2 separate regions of the Homo sapiens genome follow, and region 1 is linked to region 2. The links are contacts of gene promoters, found by promoter capture Hi-C in blood cells and fetal thymus (Javierre and others, 2016). All regions are on one chromosome and are shown on one strand. The core of a region is centred on a gene start or on the middle of the fragment in contact, and the rest is flanking DNA. Distances in the headings are between cores, read along the strand shown.

Evidence for each region. Contacts are between HindIII fragments. The CHiCAGO score rates a contact against its expected background, and 5 or more counts as called.
Region 1: a contact is called between a fragment that was not itself captured here and the fragment with the promoter of SNRNP27 in region 2, in 11 of 17 cell types (naive CD8 T cells, M1 macrophages, monocytes and 8 more). The highest score is 9.7, in naive CD8 T cells.

The regions. Positions count from the first base shown.
Region 1 is chr2:70,165,679-70,169,671 of GRCh38, forward strand. It overlaps C2orf42 (chromosome 2 open reading frame 42), which reads right to left. Exons shown (of 10, transcript NM_017880.3): 6 at 3,879-3,983. Among named protein-coding and RNA genes, the nearest start is that of C2orf42, 23 kb to the right of the region's middle. The HindIII fragment of the contact is 4,037 bases long and covers 1-3,549 here.
Region 2 is chr2:69,891,878-69,896,280 of GRCh38, forward strand. It overlaps SNRNP27 (small nuclear ribonucleoprotein U4/U6.U5 subunit 27), which reads left to right and starts at 2,079. Exons shown (of 6, transcript NM_006857.3): 1 at 2,079-2,141; 2 at 3,217-3,337. The coding sequence starts at 2,108. RefSeq lists enhancers at 1,704-2,639, 2,382-2,441, 2,640-3,574. The HindIII fragment of the contact is 14,817 bases long and covers 1-4,335 here.

The DNA.
Region 1 (3,993 bases), core at 281-2,780, 270 kb after region 2:
GGACTTTCTGATGTACAGGGAGAGGTGAAAGAAAAGGAATCAAGGGACGGTAATAACTAAAAATACCACTGAGATTTCTTTATACAGAGGCAAAAAGAAGGCTTTGATTGACCTTTCTGGGCCAAGAACTGTCACTAGTCCTACTGTTGATCCCTTGCAAACATAAAAAACACAGTGTAGCCTGGGCAACAAAGAAAGACCCAGTGTCTATAAAAAAAAATTTTTTTTTTGAGATGGAGTCTCACTCTGTTGCCCAGGCTGGAGTGCAATGGCATGATCTCGGCTCACTGCAACCTCTGCCTCCCGGGTTCAAGCAATCCTCCTGCCTCAGCCTCCTGAGTAGCTGTGACTACAGGCGTGCACCACCACGCCTGGCTAATTTTTGTATTTTTAGTAGAGATGGGGTTTCACCATGTTGGCCAGGCTGGTCTCAAACTCCTGACCTCGTGATCCACCCACCTCGGCCACCCAAAGTGCTGGGATTACAGGCGTGAGCCACCGTGCCTGGCCAAAATTTTTTTTTAAATTAGCCAGGCGTGGTGGTATGCACCTGCTGTCCCAGCTACTTGGGAGGCTGAGGTGGGAGGATCAACTGAGTCGAGGAGGTTGAGGCTGCAGTAAGCCATGATCACGCCACTGCACTCCAGCCTGGGCAACAGAGTGAGACCCTCCCTCAAAAAGGAAAAAAAAAGAAAAGAAAAGAGAGGCCAGGCGTGGTGACTCACACCTGTAATCCCAGCACTTTGGGAGGCCGAGGTGGGTGGATTACCTGAGGTCAGGAGTTCGAGACCAGCTTGGCCAACATGGTGAAAACCCATCTCTACTAAAAAAAAAAAAAAAAAAAAAAATTAGCTGGGCATGGTGGTGTGTGCCTGTAATTCCAGCTACTCAGGAAGCTGAGGCAGGAGAATCGCTTGAACCCAGGAGGCAGAGGTTGCAGTGAGCCGAGATCATGCCACTGCACTCTAGCTTGGGCAACAGGGTGAGACTCCACTGAAAAAAAAGAAAAAAGACAATGAAAAAACAAACCAACACAGTAGACCCTTGTCATCCACCAAGTATAACATTTCAAATCCGCAAATTTTAAAAAGACCAACACAGCACAGACTTTCCCCCTTAAAGGGTATGCGAAGTAAGATGGGATGAGAACAATGAGGCCGAGGTGGCTGCCTCCACTTGATTCCCTTTTGCTCGCTATCCCCAGGTTCTTGCTATTTGCATTCATGTCTAAGCAAACTAATGACATGCTCTCTCACCCGATGGTCAGCACCATGAATGCTGAGGGACTACAAGTTAGGACACTGCTTACCCAGCAAGCATCTGTCTTTCTCTCTGAATATGACCTCAAGGCAGGTAAAATACTTGAAAGTACTTAACCAACCTCTTAAAGAACCTTGCGGCCAGGCACAGTGGCTCACACCTGTAATCCCAGCCCTTTGGGAGGATGAGGCAGGTGGATCACCAGGTCAGGAAATTGAGACCATCCTGGCTAACATGGTGAAACTCCATCTCTACTAAAAATACAAAAAATTAGCCGGGCATGGTGGCATGCGCCTGTAGTCCCAGCTACTTGGGAGGCTGAGGCAGGAGAATCGCCTGAACCTGGGAGGCGGAGGTTGCAGTGAGCCAAGATCACGCCACTGCACTCCAGCCTGGGCGACAGAGTGAGACTCTGTCTCAAAAAAAAAAAAAGAAAAGAAACTTGTCAGACATTAGGTCAACAAAAAGAGTTAAGGGGAGGGGGTCAAGTGAGTTCAGTCTTTCTTAAAAATTCTGTCCAGACCAGGTGTGGTGGCTCACACCTGTAATTCCAACACTTTGGGAGGCCTAGGCAGGCGGATCACTTGAGGTCAGAAGTTCGAGACCAGCCTGGCCAACATGGTGAAACCCTGTCTCTATTAAAAATACAAAAATTAGCCAGGAGTGGTGACACATGCCTATAATCCCAGCTACTCAGGAGGCTGAAACACGAGAATTTCTTGAGCCTGGGAGGTGGAGGTTGCAGTGAACTGAGATTGTACCACTGCACTCCAGCCTGTGTGACAGAGCAAGACTGTCTCAAAAAATAAAAAAGAATTAACTTCAAAAAGGTAAAACACACACACTCATAGTCAAGGAGCGAGCTGATGGAAACCTGGACAAAGGTGGTAGTAATGGAGATGGTAAGATGGAATAGAGGGTGGTACAGGAATGGGATGGAAGAGGGAATAGGATGGGATGGAAGAGGACTACAAGTGTTTAGCTTATAGTATTATCAATATTCTGTTTTCTGGGCTGGGCACGGTGGTTCACGCCTGTAATCCCAGCACTTTGGGAGGCCGAGGTAGGTGGATCACCTGAGGTCAGGAGTTCAAGACCAGCCTGGTTAACATGGTGAAACCCCATCTCTACTAAAAATACAAAAAATTGGCCAGGCATGGTGGTGCGTGCCTGTAATCCCAGCTACTTGGGAGGCTGAGGCAGGAGAATTGCTTGAACCTGGGAGGTGGAGATTACAGTGAGCCAAGATCACGCCACTGCACTCCAGCCTGGGCGACAAGTGATTCACCTACCTCAGCCTCCTGAGTAGTTGGGACTACAGGCCTCTGCCACCATGCCCAGCTATAGGATCCTTTTTTTTTTTTTTTGAGATGGAGTCTCACTTAGTCACCCAGGCTGGAGTGCAGTGGTGCAATCTCAGATCACTGTAAGCTCCACCTCCTGGGTTCACGCCATTCTCCTGCCTCAGCCTCCCGAGTAGCTGGGACTACAGGCACCCGCCACCACACCTGGCTAATTTTTTTGTATTTTTAGTAGAGATGGGGTTTCACTGTGTTAGCCAGGATGGTCTCAATCTTCTGACCTCGTGATCCGCCCGCCTCAGCCTCCCAAAGTGCTGGGATTACAGGCATGAGCCACCGCACCCGGCTGCTAATAGGATACTTTTAAGGCAACAAGCAGAGACTGGCTAGATCTGAAACTGGTGACGTTCCATGAGACTATAACAAATAACACCCAAATCCAGCCTGTGTTCTCCAATCTTCCTCAGCATGTTTATGTCCCTTTTTTTTTTTTTAGATGGAGTCTCACTGTTGCCCAGGCTGGAGTGCAATGGTGCGATCTTGGCTCACTGCAACCTCCGCCTCCCGGGTTCAAGCAATTCTCCCACCTCAGCCTCCCAGGTATTTGGGACTACAGGCACCCACTATAATGCCTGGCTAATTGTTTTGTATTTTTAGTAGAGATAGGGTTTCGCCATGTTGGCCAGGCTTGTCTTGAACTCCTGACCTCAAGTGATCCGCCCACCTCGGCCTCCCAAAGTGTCGGATTACAGGTGAGAGTCACCATGCCCGGCCAGTATGTTTAGTAATTCTATATAACTATCTTAGTCTCATGTGTTTAGATTTTCAATTTTTCTTTTTTCCATACAGGGTCTCGCTTCGTTTCCCAGGCTGGAGTGCAATGGCACTATTTTTTGTAGAGATGGGGTTCACTATGTTGTGCAGGCTTAGATTTTCTCTAATCTTTTTTCCCCTTGCTTTAAGTTTGAGAGTTAGAATAGTCTCATAAAGCTTCAGTATCTCCCTCACCACACACACACACACACACACACACACACACACACGTGCACACGAACTTATGCAAGCAATAAGACTACCTGCCTTTACTTATTATTTGCTATGTTTTTTCTCTTCTGTCTCTAAATTATAATAATTTTGCTGCGCCTGAATTTTAACTATGTGATTGTTTTTTTCTTTCAATTAGATTTCTACTTTCTTGTGGCCCAGTGCTCTCTGGACTGAAGTCCAATTACTTTTCCTATCAGAGGAGAATTACAGCACAATTACCTTAATTTCTCCTACTTTCAGCAAGAGCCCAGTTAGATGAACAATACTTACCATCAAACTGATAGTGCATGGTTTGATGGATGCGTTCTGTGACACTGGCCAGCCAGTCTTGGAAGGATAAAGTCACTTGTGCCTCATCTAACAGCTGACCACAGGCTAGGGAAAA
Region 2 (4,403 bases), core at 829-3,328:
TTCACTGTAGTCTCGATCTCCTGACCTCGTGATCCGCCCGCCTCGGCCTCCCAAAGTGCTGGGATTACAGGCGTGAGCCACCGCGCCGGGTGAGGGGTTTCTTAAAAAGCATTTTCATCAGATGAGACCCCAGCCCTGAGGGGAGAAGGAGAAAGAGAAAGAGAAAGAAAGAGTATTTTCAGCCACCACCTGAGGCCACCATGTTCTTCCTCTCTTACACATCTAGTACATACCCCCTTAGGCTTCCCATAAATCCTGTCTTTCCTGTGGATAATTTCTTCAATCATTAGTGGTGTGCTTCTTCTTTCTTTTTTTTTTTTTTTGTTTGAGACGGAGTCCCACTCTGTCGCCCAGGCTGGAGTGCAGTGGCGCAGTCTCAGCTCACTGCAACCTCAACCTCCCAGGTTCAAGCAATTCTCCTGCCTCAGCCTCCCAAGTAGCTGGGATTACAAGCATGCGTCACCACGCCTGGCTATCATTAGTGGTGTGTTTCTCCAATGATGTCCCTAAATCTTCTTCCCTGGGGTCTGCACCTCCCTTGAACCTCCCCATTCTACACCTAGTGCATGCTTTGCCAGGGTAATTCCAAAGGCATCTGGGGGTTGGGGCTGTTGGTAGAAATCCTAGATGTCATGGCTGGATCTTTCCTGGAAGTTTGGGTTGGGACAGGTATTAAACAGGCCACTCTGAATGTATAAATCTAATTAAAAATTTATGTGATTGGTGGGCATTTTTTCCAACCTAATAAAGTCCCTTTCCATCCCCCAGCTCTTTGTATTTTAAAAGCCAGGTCACTAGACTTGATAATTCTAGAGAGAGCTGACTGAAAAGAGTTGGTTTGATTAGAAACAGAGGTTCAACACTTTTACACTGTTGGTGGGAATGTAAATTAGCTCAACCATTGTGGAAGACAATGTGGTGTTTCCTCAAAGACCTAAAACCAGAAATACCATTTGACCCAGCAATCCCATTACTGGGTATATACCCAAAGGAATATAAATAATTTTATTACGAAGATACTTGCACGCATATGTTCACTGCAGTACTATTCACAATAGCGAAGACATAGAATCAACCCAAATGCCCATCAATGATAGACTGGATTAAAAAAATGTGGTACGTATACACCATGGAATACTACACAGCCATAAAAAGGAACGAGATAATGTCCTTTGCAGGGACATGGATGGAACTAGAAGCCATTATCTTCAGCAAACTAACACAGAAACAGAAAACCAAACATTGCATGTTCTCACTTATAAGTAGGAGCTGAACAATGAGAACACATGGGCACAGGGAGAGGAACAACACACACTGGGGCCTGTAGGGGGAGGAGCTGGGGAGAGGGAGAGCATTGGGAAGAATAGCTTAATAGATGCAAGGCTTAATGGGTTGATAGGTGTAGCGAACCACCATGGCACACATTTACCTATGTAACAAAACTGCACATCCTGCAAATGTACCCTGGAACAAAATAAAATAAAATAAGAAATAGAGGTTTGAGTCTTTCCTGGTAAGCATATTTATGCTCTACCACAGACGGTTCAGCCTTGGGGCAAGACAGTCTTTCTCCTAATTTTTGTAGTTTTGAACATTCTAAAGTTTTTGTTGTTGTTGTTGTTGTTTTCCCTGAGGACAGAGGCAACTTTGGGGAAGTACTTTGTCGGGTAGGATGGAATCTGGGGCCTTTAGTTTTCCTTCCAAGAGCCCATAGGAGGTTTTGGGTGCCTTCTCAATGCTGGCATGAGAAAATATAAAGCAGATGGACAGTGAACTTTGGTATATTCACTCCTTATGAATGTTATGTGGAAAAGTGGAAGAACATAAGCTGTTTGTCTATGCTATGTTTACAATTGGTTTGCTCTATTTTGTGCATGTGGACAAAAATGGGGGAAAAATGAAAGCTGTGTTAGGATAATGGGTATACGGCTGAATTTTCCAGGAATTTCTATAATAACACCAAATCGCATGTTTTAATGCCCACCGTGAACAAAGAAGACCGGAACCCTCGCAACTCGTTTTGACGTTTTCTGGTCGGCGGTAAAAGCTCGGTTCCCGGCCCTCCCGGAAGTTGTTGCACAGTTGTTTCCGGGAAGCGGGACTCCAAATGGGTCGCAGTCGCAGCCGCTCTCCACGGAGGGGTGAGTCCTGTAGCAATTCGGAGGATATGGGGCTCTGTTGGAGGCCTGTCCCTTTTGTTTTATTTTGTTTTGTTTTTGGTAGCCGCGTAGCAGAGAGGCGGGCCCTTTTCCCAGGCGGAGAGCGAGGGGTGGATAAAGGAACGTAGACCTGGGCCCTGCCCTCTTCAGCCCGCCCTCTCCGGTTTGAAGGCAGTTGTTTGTCTCTGAATTAGTTTCATTAAGTCTTTGTCACCTTCATACAATAACTTTTATTACACTGTGGCCGGTGGGTTTAGAATTAGACCTCAGTTCCTTTGCTGAATTTCTGGGCGACGGTGGGCAAGTCACTACTCAGCCTTTCTGAATCGAATTCCCAGAATGAGTCATTGAGGGTAGTATTGCCAACTTTTAAAAACTGATGTGAGAATTAATGTCACATCCCATAACATACAGTATGTGATTCTGCCTGGTTCTTAAATACTTAATAAATGTTAGATTCCTGCCCAGGTCATTACAGGGAAATCGATATTAAGAATTTTGAGTCCTGGGAGCTCACTTCGTAATGTTTTCTGGCTACCAGCCCCATAAATGAGGCAGCGCGACGTAAAGAACCCTGGACTTCCATTAGGAGATCTAACTTAGACCCTCGGTTCTGCCCCTGATTCGTTTTTTTTTTAAATCAATTTATTTATTTTTAATGAGACAGAGTCTCGCTCTGTCGCCCGCCCAGGCTGGAGTGCAGTGGCCGATCTCAGCTCACTGCAACCTCCACCTCCTGGGTTCAAGCGATTCTCATGCCTCAGCCTTCCGAGTAGCTGGGATTACCCGTCCGTGCCACCACGCCTGGCTAATTTTTGTATTTTTATTAGAGACGGGGTTTCGCCGCGTTGGCCAGGCTGGTCTCGAACTCCTGACCTTGTGATCCGCCCGCCAGCCTCACAAAGTGCTGGGATTACAGGCGTGAGCCACCGCTCCCAGCCTCTTTTTACCTTTTTAATGTGACTAGTAATGGTTTGCATTATTTTTCTACTGGACGGCGCAGCTCTAGATATTTGAGGTAATTATCAGTTCTGCAATTTGTGTGCGTTTGCATTAGAACGTAGGCGTTCCCGGTCCACATCCCGGGAGAGAGAACGCAGGCGCCGAGAAAGGTCCAGGTCTCGGGAGAGAGATCGGAGAAGGAGCCGCTCGCGATCCCCGCACCGAAGACGCTCCCGGTAAGGGCAGAAAATAAGCCAAGAGTTTTATTTACCGAAAGTCCCTAAGAAACTGGTCGCAGCTCTTAACTTTGTTTTCATCGCTTATAAGGGGATTTACGGTTTCCTGAAATGGAGGAAACTTAATCCAACCTTATTCTAAAGCTAACATTCACCTTGGTTAAATGGTGCTAATAGTACTCTACATCACAAAGTTGTCTTGAAAGAGTAAGTAAGAAATAATGCATGCAAACCCCAGAGCATGGTGCTTGGCAAGAAAAAGAAATAAGTATTTTATATTTTTGTTTCTTTCTTCCGTTCCTTTCCTTTCCTTTTCTTTTCCTTTTCCTTTCTTTTCCTCTTTTTTGAGACGGAGTCTCGCTCTGTCACCCAGGCTGGAGTGCAGCGGCGCAATCTGCTCACTGCAACCTCCGCCTCCCCTGCAATCTCTGCCTCCCCTGGTTCAAGCAATTCTGCTGCTGAGCCTCCCAAGTAGCTGGGACTACAGGCACATGCCACCACACCCAGCTAATTTTTTTTGTATTTTTAGTAGAGACGGGGTTTCAACGTGTTAGCCAGGATGGTCTTGATCTCCTGACCTCGTGATCCACCCACCTCGGCCTCCCAAAGTGCTGGGATTACAGGCGTGAGCCACTGCACCCGGCCTGTTGTTTCTTTTTTATTAACTTTTTGGTGATAATGATTTATTCAAGTATGTAATCAAGAATGGATGATCTTGGAAGAACATTAGAAATGGGCTCTGAGTCTTTTTTTTGGTTTGTTTTTTTTTTTTTTGAGAGAGAGGGTCTCCCTGTGTTGCCCAGGCTGGTCTTGAATTCCTAGGCTCAAGCAATCCTCCTGCCTCTGCTTTCCAAAGTGCTGGAATTAGTAGCGTGAGCCACCAAGCCCCACCTGGCTCTGAGTCTTAATAACCATCAATTGCTGTTTAAGTCAGCTTTTTTGTATATTTGTGTGTGGTTGTTAGAAACTTTTAATTTACATTTTTCTGCCTTCCAGAAAGCTTTCTAGCCCTAGTTGTACTGAATGCAACTGATGATTAAGCAGTAAACTACATTAAAAAATTTTT